2 separate regions of the Homo sapiens genome follow, and region 2 is linked to region 1. The links are contacts of gene promoters, found by promoter capture Hi-C in blood cells and fetal thymus (Javierre and others, 2016). All regions are on one chromosome and are shown on one strand. Each heading gives the region's core, a stretch centred on a gene start or on the middle of the fragment in contact. The rest is flanking DNA. Distances are from core to core; before and after follow the strand shown. Region 1 holds the start of MOBP (myelin associated oligodendrocyte basic protein). Region 2 overlaps MYRIP (myosin VIIA and Rab interacting protein).

Evidence for each region. The method cuts DNA at HindIII sites, captures the fragments that hold promoters and counts their contacts. A CHiCAGO score of 5 or more calls a contact.
Region 2: a fragment that was not itself captured here is called in contact with the fragment with the promoter of MOBP in region 1 in 2 of 17 cell types (erythroblasts and M2 macrophages); the score reaches 6.3 in erythroblasts.

What each region holds. Positions count from the first base shown.
Region 1 is chr3:39,463,990-39,470,963 of GRCh38, reverse strand. MOBP (myelin associated oligodendrocyte basic protein) reads right to left here and starts at 3,284. Exons shown (of 4, transcript NM_001393704.1): 1 at 3,224-3,284. RefSeq lists an enhancer at 2,984-3,666. The HindIII fragment of the contact is 9,372 bases long and covers 1-4,343 here.
Region 2 is chr3:40,164,745-40,171,718 of GRCh38, reverse strand. It overlaps MYRIP (myosin VIIA and Rab interacting protein), which reads right to left. Exons shown (of 17, transcript NM_015460.4): 6 at 4,776-4,873; 7 at 4,480-4,560; 8 at 1,626-1,769. Among named protein-coding and RNA genes, the nearest start is that of EIF1B-AS1, 140 kb to the left of the region's middle. RefSeq lists enhancers at 972-1,021, 1,062-1,111. The HindIII fragment of the contact is 4,467 bases long and covers 1,876-6,342 here.

The DNA of each region.
Region 1 (6,974 bases), core at 2,035-4,534:
ATACTGAAAATTATTGAAGATTGAGCCTGGTGAGTGGATTTGTTGATTATATCTTCTGGTTTTTAGCTGTTTTAGCTGAACTTATTCTTTCATAAGGAACTAGTGAATAACTTAAGACTTTTAAGATCATACTGGTAGTAATATAAGCCCAAATTAATTTTTTAATAGGCAGAGCTAACTCTGCCCCTACTACTAGGAAGATCTTTTTATTAAATTAACAAAGAGGAGGAAAAACTAAATTTGACATTGAACTCAATTACTCTCATTAAAAATACAACTGATATTTTTAGTGAGTACAAATAATTTTATACCATTAATAAAAATTATTTTAAAATATTGCTTAGTTCATTTTCAGCTCATCTTTTTAACTTAAATTTTTGTAACTTTAAAGTAAAGTGTGTGATGTATTAGTAAAAAAGAATAATGCATCTCATCCATAAATTCAATAGGCTTATATCATACTTGAGTTCCAGGCTCTGTCATTCACTAGCTGTGTGTAATCATAGGCTAGTCTCTGGATCTCAATTTTCTTCTCTGTAAAATGTGAATGATAGTTCCTACCTCACAGATTTTGTTGAGAAGACTTGTTTTACGAATGTCTGGTACAGCTGAAGGATCTCAGAGTTTTGATTCCTGTCCCCATAAGGGGACAGTTTTTAACAGTTTTGGCCAGTTATTTTGCTAGTTGTCCCTCAATATGGGTGTGGTCTGTAGTTCAGTGCTGAGGTGTGAGTACTAGAACATGTAGGAAACACTTTTGATCAGGAGACTTTTTGCAGCGTTGCCAGAGGTCCGCCTCCTCCACTAGGGCAGACGTCCCCGTCAACCCGCGAAAGGATGCCAGCCAGCCTGGAGTGGCTACCCAGGGAAACTCTATTGAGTTGTATCTGCTTTCAGCAGATGGTTGCACTTAGAAAGGAATTATTATATTTATGAAACTAATACTCAGAGAGCAGTAGACATGACTCCAACACACACAAAGAATCTAAATTGAATACCTCACTTTAAGCCTATAAGATCACATACAGGTCACTGTAATTGCTATTTATAATCCAAGGGCAATACTTACACACTTTTGGTGATTCCTTGGAAATTATCTGTAAAAGCTCTAGATTTTTAATTTTTGGCAATTTGGTGTACAAAGATTTTAGGTACTCATTTAAAATCCTAGTAACTATTAGGTAAACAAGATCTTGAATTTAAAAATTGTATACTCAGATTCAAGTATGAATTTGGATATGTATGATCTAAAATGCAAGCCTATTCCTTTGAAAACTGCATAATTGTGAGAAAACTGCAGACCAAACCCATATTGAGGGACATTTAGCAAAATAACTGGCTTATACTCTCCAAAACTGTCTAGGTCAAAGCTGCCTCAGGTGTGGTTCCAGACTAAAGGAGGCTGAGGGGACAGGACAACAAAAGGTCATGCATGGTTCTCAATTCGCTCCTTGGACAATTGATGAAATCTAGATATCTCTAGATTTAAAAACAGTATTTTCTCAATAGTAATTTTCTAATTTTAATTAATTCCAATTAAAATAAATTTTAATTAATTCCAATTAAAATAAATTTTAATTAATTCCAATTAAAATAAATTTTAGTTAATTCCAATTAAAATAAATTTTAATTAAAATTAATTAGATATAAATATGTGTATATATACATATACACACATATGTATATATATCTATACATATACACACACATATATGTATATATACACACACATATGTATATATGTATATACACACACATGTATATATGTATATACACACACACACATGTATATATGTATACACACACACATATGTATATATGTATATACACACACATATGTATATATGTATATATACACACACATATGTATATATGTATATACACACACACATATGTATATATGTATATACACACACATATGTATATATGTATATATATACACACATATGTATATATGTATATATACACACACATATGTATATATGTATATATACACACACATATGTATATATGTATATATACACACAATGTATATATGTATATATACACACTCATATGTATATATGTATATATACACACACATATGTATATATGTATATATACACACTCATGTATATATGTATATATACACACATATGTAATATGTATACACACACATATGTATATATACACACACATGTATATATGTATATATACACACACATGTATATATGTATATATACACACACATATGTATATATGTATATACACACACATATGTATATATGTATATACACACACATATTTTTATATATACACCCATATGTATGGATACAGAGAGAGAGAAAGAGAATGATAAAGGAAATATGGTAAAACAGGAACATCTGGGTAATTTGGCTGCACCTGAAATTTTCTGTATTGTTTGCAACTTTTCTGAAAATCTGAAACAATTTTTAAAACTCACTCACCAACAAGTTTCCTGTCATTCTAAATACGAAACAGCATATCCGCACACCTGGCAGCAGCCTGCTCTCTGCCTCCCTGATTTATTCACAAAGAATTAAAAAGTCCTTTCCCCGTTTTCCTGCTAGTACTGTAGGCCAAGTTCATTACTCGCCTCCCTGACACATAATATTTTTTCCTTTCTCTGTCATCCATAGAACTGAAAACTCCCTGTTGTTTCTAAGATATTCTGTATCAGACAAAGCATTAGCGCCTTTCCATTTAAGGTTGTTGGTCTACAGGGGGCAGAATTCCGAAAAGATTTGGGCTTTGTTGTTCCATTAAGATCCCCCACACATAAATCCAACTGTATGAGGAAAAAAATTGTTCCTAGATAAGAAGAAAAACTCATTTTTAAATCATGACAAATAATAAAAGAAGAAATAAATTAAAAAAAAAAAAGCAGCAGCAGCAGCAGCATGTACTACCATCCATCTAGCTCCAGGAACATGGGGCTTTGAATCTGAGGAAATCTGAGTAAGGGCTCAGAGCCTCTCTCTGGGCTCAGACGATTTCCAAACATTAGCAGGAACATTCCAGGAGGCCCCCTGCCCACATCAGAATAAACATGGTGTCCTCTGTTCTTGTTTTCTCCATCCTTGTATGTCCTCTCAATCTTGACTATTCTTACAGAAAGTTTTCCCTGGGATATAATGAAATGGCCCATACAAAAAAGTACACTTGTCATTTAAAGATGAAAGTATAAAATGAAGTAAAATAAAAACCAATGGAATCCTCTTACCTTCAAATAGCAGTTGTTGTGTGAAACAGATTCTGCGTCTATACCAGGTCCCTGAGGGTTTGAGCCTACTTCAATGCATGCAGAATATATAGGGAGAGGTTATAGATCTGGGTTTTTCATTACACAAGGTGTTTTTGATGAGTCCTCAGCGAAGATCCACTTAAAAACAAAAGCTACACAAAGACTACAAAAAGGCCACACAAAGTTTAAACAAAAGGCTAAAGAAAGACCAAACAAAAGCCAAAGAAAGTTTAAACAAAGAGCGAAACAAAGATAAAACAAAGGCCAAAGACAAAAACAAAGAGCAAAAGAAAATCTAAACAAAAGCTAAGCTAAGCTATAACCATATCTCACACACACATACACACGCACCCCACATTCACTCTACAGCCCCCCAACATTCACATATTCCAGCCTCCCACCTCCCACATAATCAACACCCCATGTGAAAACTCACCCCTCAAGGTTCATTCCACATAAACTCCAGTTAAGTTCCATGCCAGGTCCAACCACACCACACACCAGCTCACCCTACCAAACCACACACCCTTCCACCAACATGCTATGCCACCACAGCGCCATCCCACCCAGCACCCCATACCTCACTCACACATCACAAGCCATACCCATAAGCCATGAACACAGCTGCAATCACATTGACAAATTCCAGGAGTTTTTATACTCCATGTAGATTAAATACCGATCACACTTCCTTCCCTAAAACACTCATGTATACCCATAGATACACCCCAAAACTAAAATTCACACAAGCATGCCCTTGTACACTTGATTAGCAAGAGTCTAATCCAGTCTAGTTACAACTAACATTGAATTTGGAAGTTTCCATGACAATTACCCTATGCATTCACATTTATGAAAACACGTATAAATCATCTCTTATGTTGAACAGTTTCTGCGAATGATAAATCTCATTCAATTAACATTTTATTGGCTTCAGTCTTAGACACCGGCATTTTCTTATAATTTTCCTAACCTAAAATGTGGGGCCACACCTTTCTGTGCTCTGTTAAATGCCATGGGTCCTGTAACTCTGCTTCTGCTATTTATTTTATATATGTAGAACTAGAACTACCCACTAATGATTTGAAAGATGAAAGCTTACTTCTGAAACCAATCCAACCAACAGCAGCCTTGCCTTTTGAATTCCCAGCGCCCCCTCCATGACAGTGTAATATAAATGTCAACATTACCACCAAGTTTCTCTTTAGGCTCTTGTCTCAGTAAAGAATCAGCCAGGGAACCTTGAAAAGGTAATCCAGTGAGACTACAAACATTGACTATAAATCTCTTTGTACACTAACATTTTTGTTTTTGTTTTTGTTTTGAGACGGAATCTGGTTCTGTCCCCCAGGCTGGAGTGCAGTGGCGCTCTCACCTCACTGCAACCTCCACCTCCTGGGTTCAAGCTATTCTTCTGCCTCGGCCTCCCGAGCAGCTGGGACTACAGGCACCCACCATCATGCCTGAATAATTTTTGTATTTTTTAGTAGAGACAGGGTTTCGCCATGTTGCCCAGGCTGGTCTCAAACTCCTGACCACAGGTGATCCGCCTGCCTTGGCTTCCCAAAGTGCTGGGATTACATGCTTGAGCCACCGTGCCTGGCCTCTTCGTATACTAACTTTATAGTTAATTAAACATTCTCTGAGTAATGAGTTATAGACGTATGCTGGTTGATTCACTCCCACTGTGATGCCAGTATTTTGCTTGTGTTGTACTGACTGTGACTGAGGGCTGGGGAGTAGGGTAAGATGGTTTAGAGCTTGAGCTCTGGAGGCACTGACACTAGGATCATCACAGGACCCACCTCAAGGATTTGAGTGAGGACTAAATCAGTTAATATGTGTTCACTGGTGGAAAGAATGCCTGGCACACAGAGTCCTGCACCAATGTCACTCTTATGGCCCTGGCCCTAAAGAAGGTTACCAACAGGGGTGGGTGGCAGTTGTAAGGACTTGTTTTCTATTCACAAAATAACTGGAGACTAATTCAGGCTATTTAAAAAATACAAGATCTAGTAGATATATTATAAAGCTCTATCTTTATTAAAAGACCCTCTGCTTCTCAAATCTTTCCAACAAAAGTTCTTAATGACACATTTTGGGGAAGTCCCATCTTTGATCTTCTACTCCACCATATATAGAGTGATATACAATTTACACAACCAAAGTATGGAGGTTCCACAAAATGCTTGTAATGCCATCTTTTTCTATTTCTACTTAAATGTTAGTGTTTGCCCTTAGTGCGGTGGCACCCTCACTCCCAGAACCACTGGGGAGGCCACGTCTGAGTCAGTGTCACTCTTCTTGAATGGCAGCCTGTGTTCCACACAGAGCAAGACCTCCCAGGACTCACAGTCACAATTAAGAAACTTGCTAACACTACAGAGGATTTTCCCACAGAAACTTTGGCTACAATTGACAATCCCCACATGTTATGAGTTAAAATGTGTCCCATCCCTCATCTCTCAAATTCCTTTGTTGAAGTCCTAACCCTTAGTATCTCAGAATTTGGAATGAGGCCGGGTGCAGTGGCTCACTCCGGTAAGGCCAGCACTTTGGCCAGGAATTTGAGACCAGCCTGGCCAACAGGGCAAAACCCCATCTCTACTAAAAATACAAAGAAATTAGCCAGGTGTGGTGGCATGTGCCTAACATTACAGAGGATTTTAATTCCCAGCTACTCAGGAGGCTGAGAATCGAGAATCGCTTGAACCTGAGAGGCAAAGGTTGCAGTGAGCCAAGATTGCACCACTGCACTCCAGCCTGGGTGACAGAGCAAGACTCTGTCTCAAAAAAAAAAAAAAAAAAAGAATTTGGATTCAAATAAGGATTTGAAGACAGACCACAGAGGTGATCAAGTTATGAAGTCATTAGGGTGGGCTCTGATGCAACATGACTAGTGTCCTTACACAAAGAAGAAATTTGGACAGAAAGACACATTTGGAGGGAGGACAATGTGAAGCCACAGGGAGAAGATGGTCATCCACAAGCCAAGGAAGGAGGCCTGGAACAGATCCTTCATTCACAGCCCTCGGAAGAAACCAGCCCTGCCCATACCTTGACCTCAAACTTCAAGTTTTGAGAACTGTGAGACAATTCATTTCTGTTGTGTACGTCACCCAGTTGGTGGTACTTTACTTCAGCAGCCCTAACAAACTAATACGCCACAGTGACAATAAGTACTATTTCAATTGGTTTCTACATTTATCAAAATAACACTTGTGCAAAGTTATAATAATATTAAAAGGCTTCTGTTGGAAAACAATAGTCCCTTATGCTGCCTCACCAGTCAACATCCCAGCCACCAGAGGCAACCATTTTAAACCTTTTCTTAGCTATCTTTTCTCTATTTATTTCCATATATCTAAATAATTCACACAAATAGCCATTTATATACCTATTTATGGTAGGTTATTGGTTTCCTCTTAAGGGTATAGTTTTCTTACATTCTACTTTTTCCTCTCCCTTTTCCCTTACCTACTGAATGTAGTTAGTATTTATATTATTATAAATATGTAAATATTATTTCCTTCAGAACCTTGTGATTAACTACAATTGTTTCCTTTCTTTGTACAAATTTCTTGTTCCTGGAGTTAATAATCACCCCATTTTTAATTTTATTCATTTATTTTAATCTGCTTAGTTTTAAATTTTACACTACATCCTTTTTTCCAAATATTCCAACAGATCTGTCAACTATCTGTTAATAATTTTTAAGCATTCCAATATA
Region 2 (6,974 bases), core at 2,860-5,359, 700 kb before region 1:
GGGCAGGTCTTATTATTTCCACTTTACAGACACGAAACTAAACAGTTGTTCAAGGTCTCATATCTAGTCAAGGGCAAGTCCAGAATCCTACCCCAGGAGTGGCAGAGACAGAGCCCAAGCTCTCTGTTCTTGCCTCTGACTCATTGACTCATGGTTGAGTCTGGGGTGCTGTGGGAATTTCTACTTTCTGGATCTCCCCAAGACTTGACACTTTGAGTTTGCAGAAAATACTTCAGAAAGACCCCAAATGCAAGGTGATGTCATGCCTGCAGCCTGAGCCCAGGAACTGCAGCTCTGATTTTGTGACCAGTCTGAGTGACAGGCTATTTGAAGGGCTTTTGCTCCCCTGCTCCATCCAGTAGGATCCTTTTCCACTCTCTGCTGGAAAGGCCCCTTGTCTGAATTCCAAATCCATTTCTATTCTCAATCTTTCAACTCAGCACCCAATTATGAACTGTCTCCTATTACCTCTTTTTTACCAGCCTTACCCGTGTCCCCTCCTGCCTTGCTAACCAGATTATAAAGCTCTGGACGGTGGGCATGGCGTCTTCTACTTGTTTGGTTCTCCTTGGTGCTGAGCATATGCATGACAGCAGCAGTAAAACAAGCTGACAGCACGTTGACAAGGAAAGGTTCTGCTGATAAATCAATGAAGTTTCATCTCTGATAAAGCCATAAAGATACTCCTTGTAACCGTTGTGCATCTGGCAGTTGGCGAGGACAAAGGAGTTTATGTAGGTGACCTATGCTGATCCCTTGTGGACTGCAAGTCGACCATGTGCTACTTTGCATGCCCTCGTTTTAATCTGCTCATGCAGGGATGAATGCCACTAGACCCCTAGTGGGGATGGGGTAAGCCCCTGGCCTTGCCTTTCCCATGCCTGACTTTCCAGTTTTGAAGTGCACCTGTGTGCTGCCCTGTCCCAGACTGTGAGCACCTATATCTAGCAGAACCAGAGCCCTACTGGCCAGTCCCTCAGTTTCTTGCAGAACCTGCCCCACCCAGCTCCTTCCCCAGCACTTTGCATATCCTCAACTGGGCTTACTCAAACCAGTAACAAAGGATGTGACAGACTCAGCAACTCTACTGCAGACAGGAACAGCACCAAACCCTTGGTTGTGGAAAGACCACTGAGCTCTGTGACTCAAGGTGACAGACAGAAAGGTTGGCTCCACACTGTGACTTCCTGTGTCCAGATGTGACCATTTTGGTGGTTGAAACAGCAGTGGTAATTTTCTCGCTGTCACTTTTCAGTTTCAGTAAAGCAAGCAATCTAGGTTATAAGAGTACACATGGTCCTTATAAAGCTATTTTCCCCCACTGGACTCAGTATAATTCTTTTCAGAATGAAAAAAAAATGCAGCCTATCAGCATTTGTATTTTTCCTAAATTGGTCTCTGTGTAAAATCTATCTCTATAATTATCAATAGACCATTTGTGTTTTTCTCTCCTCTCTTACCCTTCCTGGCCCCCGACTCACACTCACTTTCTCTTTCAATTTCGCTCCCCATCCTTCTGAAATTTTTACCCTGGCCAGTGGCCACCTGATTCAACTACAGAGGGTTAAATGTGTGCCCCAGACCTGCACGTGTGGAGGGTAGACCAGCACTGCTTGGGGACTCACCCAGAGGGCAGCGGGAGCACGGTAGCCTCCAGGGGATGCTGAGGTCCCCTCATCTGCCACCTTTGTGCTGCAACTCTGGGGATGTGGCCATCCTGGCTCTTCTTCCACTTGCTGCTCACTTTTGCTCTTCTGTTTTCGTATAATCTGGGGAGGGGAGGACAAAAAAGGGGCAAGTTATTGGAGAGGCCTCCTGATGCTATGTGGAGTAACTGGGACCATCTTTGGAATTTTTTTCAGCCACTTATAAGCTTAATTTCAACAGAACACCAGGCTGTTTCAGATCTGCGCTATGAGAAACCAGCACAATTATAGCCTTGAGCATTCTAAGCATTTTACAGTTTACAAATAATCCTTTTATGATGTTAACAGCTTCTCTATTTATTAAGTGCCTAGCATGTGTCAGACCTCATGTTAGGTATTGTGTAGGCTTTACCTCACTTAATTCTGGAAGGTACATATTCTAATTCTTTCCATTTTATAGATGAGGAAACAGGCTCAGAGAGACTAAGTTATTGGATAAGGCTACACAGCTCATAAATGGTGGAGCTGGATCTCAAACCCAGAGCCTCTGGTTGTAAGTCCTGAATTTAGGAAGCATCTGGAAGCCCTATCAAGGGTGTAGACACCAAGAGTCACCAGAATGGCTCCAAATCCAGCTCGTTTGCACAGTCATTTGGATTTAGTGAGTCCATCCGTACCAAGGTCTCTGGGCTTTCAACTTCCTATAGGCAGGAAGCAGTCAAGAAATGTGCTAAGCCACCAAGATGGGCATATTCTCCAATGTTCCTTTAGGCCAGACAGGAGGATGAAAAGGAAGGCTGAGAGCCCAGAGAACAATCAACTGAGGTGCCATCTCCCATGGCAGGGTGGGGACCCAGCCATGTTGCCCAGCAGGATTTCAGAATTGCTGAGGACCAGTGACTGCCGGTGCCTCCCATTCTTCCCCTCTGCAGGTGGGTAGGGCCAGTGCTGCCTCCCTGTCCCTCTTCCAACATTGCATGTTGGGTATATGGGGGGAGATCATTTGTTTGCTTAGTTTACAGATCTCCAGCTAAAAAGGAGCTAAAATTGGATCAAATGTACTTTGAACTGTGATTGGATGAGACATTTGGGGGTCTTTGGGTGTGGTGAGTCTACTTGGCATACGGAAGGGATGTGAATTATCGTGACCAAAAGGGAAGACTGAAGTTTTTCAACACTTCCTGCATACGGCACTTTCTAGTGTGACTCTGCAGACCCTCCCAGTATAGGGAGAATCTACGTCCCAGCCCTTGGCTTTGGGCTCGATGTGTGACTTGCTCTGGCCAATGAGATGAGAGGGGGGAGTCAGTAACCATAAGCTAGAGCTAAGCCTTGGCCTTAACAAGCACTGTGTGCTTCCTCTTGCTGGCTTGTGCTCCTGTCATGGCCACAGGCAGCTGATGTGCCCTCAGTTGGGCCCCAGAGTGAACATGCTGCACCTGACTTTGTCCCAACCCATAGCTTGAAGTGCAGCTACTGCAGATGTGTGAGCAATAAATAAATTGTGGTATAACAAAACATATATACAGATAGTCCTTGATTTAAGATTTTTGGACTTTACGATGGTGGGAAAGCGGTGTGTGTTCAGTGCAGCATTCCATAAATTATATGAGCTAATAAACACTGTTATAAAATAGGCTTTGAGTTCGATGATTCTGCCCAGTTATAGGCTAATGCAAGTTCTGAGTACATTTACGATAGGCTAGGCTAAGCTATGATATATTAAGAGTAGGTTAGGTGTATTGAATGCATTTTGACTTATGATACTTTCAACTTAGGATGCGGTTACTATCTGGACTTAACCCCATCCACTGTAAGCTCAGGAGCATCTGTATTTGGTCTTTGTCCCCAGTTCCTGGCACAGTTTCAAAAACCTTTGCAATTATTTGAGTGATAGGAGTGTCTGTTACACTAACAAGGTGATTCAAGGTGAGGTCCTTAGATAACTTCAGGATGGGGGCAGGTTGCCAGAAAAACCAACTACAGTACATGATTAGAGGGCTGGGAGCAGAAAGACTAGAGAGTGCATTCAATCAGGTAATCAATCATTTAATCAATCCTGCCTACATACTGAAACCTGGCTAAAAACTCTGATACAACAAGGCACAGAAACCTTCCTTGTTGGTGCATACATCGATGTGTTGGGGGAGTGATGTTCACAGAGAGAGCATGGAAGCTCTGTACACCCTGTCCCCAGACCCTGCTGCTCTGTGTGTCTCTTCATCTGGCCGTTCACCTGTACCCTTTATATTAAACCGGTAATGGTAAGTAAAGCACTTTCCTGAGTTCTGTGAGTTCTAGCAAATAATTGAATTGAGGGTCCACGGTCATGGAAACTCCCAAATTTGCAGCAGGCTAGGGAGAAGTGTGGTGGCTTTGGGATACCTGAAACTTGTGGCTGGTGTCTGAAGTAGGGGCAGTCTTGTGGGACTGGGCCCTTAACTTGTGGGGTCTGCACTAACTCCAGGAAGAAGTTAGTATCAGAATGGAATTTCACTTCTCAGTTGGTGTTGGAGAATTGGCTGTGGAAGACAGAAAGATCCTTGTCAAAAGCCACAGAGTTTTGGGGTGTTTGGTTTCTCAGAAGTAATTGACAGGTACACCATGCAAGGGACAGCGTAGGGCATGGAGCTAGCAGCAGTGACTGCAAAGCAAGCAAGCAGTGCGATGCATTCCCTCTGCATGGGTCCCCAGGGCACAAAAGTCTAAAGTGAGAAGGCACAGAAGATACAGTGCTAGAGACACTCCCCATGTTTCACCTGCTACTTGCCAGAGTCCCTGCACCAGGCCCAGCCAGGAAACTGCAGCCATCCCACTGCCAGGACCCACCTACCTTCTGCAGGATTGTCGTGGCCAGTTCCTCAGTTAGCTCCTCCTTGTGGTCCCGCAGGTAACTGGCCTCATTTTGCTTGTCCTGAGGAGGGAAGAGAATGGCTGTGTGCTGTGGGTGGATTTGGGGTGACTTGGCAGTCACTTTGCCAGGAGAGTCCTGACCACAAAAGCAGAGGGAGGGCCTTGCTCTAGTCAGAGCTGCTGGGACATTGATTTCCTGACAACCTGCACTTTCTCCTGGCAGCAAGGACCCCAACCCACACCTCCCCCCACAGAGAGGAGCAGGAGGGGCCCTACCAGGCTGTCCCCATATGCCTCTGCTTTGGAAATTGCTTCCTCAATGGCCTCTTCAGCCACCCGTAGGGCCACAGCCAAGGTGTCCATCACACTATGTCCTAGACAGGAAACAGAACAAAGAGCATTTCTAAAAGGGAATGATGAGTAAAACGATTGTTCAAGCTCTTCTGCTTAAATTCTTCAGGGGCTCTGGGATAAGTTCTAAGCTGTTTACCATGGCACACAAAGCCCTCGCCCTTCCCACCTGCCTCACACTGCCTCCCATGCATCATTCACATCCCATGCCCCAGTTGCAACAAATTGTTTGATTCTTTCATGCCTGCAATCTCATTCCTCCTCCCTCCTAGACTCTTGCTCCATAACTGAGCTGGTTCCCACGGACCCCAAGGCTTGGCCCAAAAATTCCTCCTCTAACAAATCTTCTCGGATCCCTTCAGCCCCGCCCTTGGCTGGAGGTCTGTCCCAGGTTCTGGGCTTGCTTTCATCATCCAAAAAGGCTCCATACCCCCGGCCCCTTCCCACAGGTCATTTTCACAGAGCAAGAATTGATCATATTCATTGTTGTATCCTAACATGAAGCACTGGTCTAAGCACACAGAATGGCTTAAAGGTGACTGAACAAAAGGGCTTCATATAAGGAAATAATGGTTCTTTATCTACTTTCTCAGATAAAGATTATGCTTTATTTTGTTCATATAATGTATATTGTGATGATGGGGAAAATGTTATTAAATGTACTAAGGACAATGGGCTGTGCATATGACTTAATGCAAATATAAACTCTATGGTATAATTTTTTGGACTATCAACCAGTATTAACAACACTGGCCAACCTCAGAGCTCAGCCACATGGCAGGCACCAAGCCCAGAGTTTCACATGATCACAGTTAATTCTGACAAAAATCCAGTGGTAAGTAGGTGCCATATAGGTACTATTTTACAGATGGTAAATTTGAAGCACAGAGTGGTTAAATAACTCACCCAAGGTACACAGCAAGACAATAAGAAGGCAAAGATTTGAATCCAGCTGGATTCCAATTCCTCTGAATTTGAATTTGGATTCCATTCCAAATTCCTTCTAATCCAAAGCCCTTGATTTTAACCACAAAACTGAGATGAATACAAGCTAACGTGATTAAAAAATATAGTGCTACCATACTTTTAGTGAACTTTTTTTTTTTTTTTTTAAGATATGGCAACAAATGAGAGAAAATAAAGGACTTCCCCAGGTGACAAAGTTCTTTTTGGAGCTAAGTGCTGGGAAAAGTTCTGTTTCCCTTGAGATCCTAGATTTTAGCTTCTTACTTGTGAGAATTTCTATCATCCTTCTCTTAGTTTTCCCCAGAAGTCCAAGTCACATCATGTGCAGGAATGTAGGTCAGCAAGGGCTAGGTACCTGGGTCTCCTTGTCCCCAATTTCAACCTCCTGTTTCCATTTATAATCTCCTACTCATATATTATTTAACACATGCAAATCTCCTGTAAGCTGTTGAAAATTCTTTGTGGAATGAGACAGGGTGTGAATATATCAATTCATTAATTACTCAATTAAAAAATAATTCAAGCTTCTTAGGCTCTTAAGGACAAAAATGTAGACAGAAAGTATCATTTGGCAAACATAATAAAGCCTCTAAACAATCCACTTAAGGTCAAAGTGATCTAGCTAGCTGATGAGTATGTCACAAGCCAGCTATGACAGTCATGATAGAGCCACGTAGGGGCAACCCAGCCCAGGGCTCTGCACACCACCAGGTTGCACAGTCTTTCCAATGTTTTGATAACTAGAGCCTATGCGATATAAGTTGTCATCACACTAAGAGCTCCCTGGTGGTAGACACTGTATCTCCCCTCTCTCTTCTTCAAGATAGCCACCGATGTATTTTTCACAGAAAAGATCTACAAATTTTTGTTGAATCAAACAAATGTTTACTGAGTACCGTTTGTGTGCTAGGCTCTGTGATGGCCCCAGTGATAACCTGATGGACAAACTGAGTCCATGCTCTCATGTACCTTCCAAGATATTGGGTGATTAGACACATAAGTAACCCCTAAGAGATATGCATAACTATCTGTGTGATAGAGATATCTGTGTGGATCCCTGGAAGGTAGGCACCTGGAGCTGTAACTAGGAAGGCTTTGGATGCTATGATTATAATTCTTGGATGAAAGTGATGTGGAACACTGGGTAAAAAGTGAAGG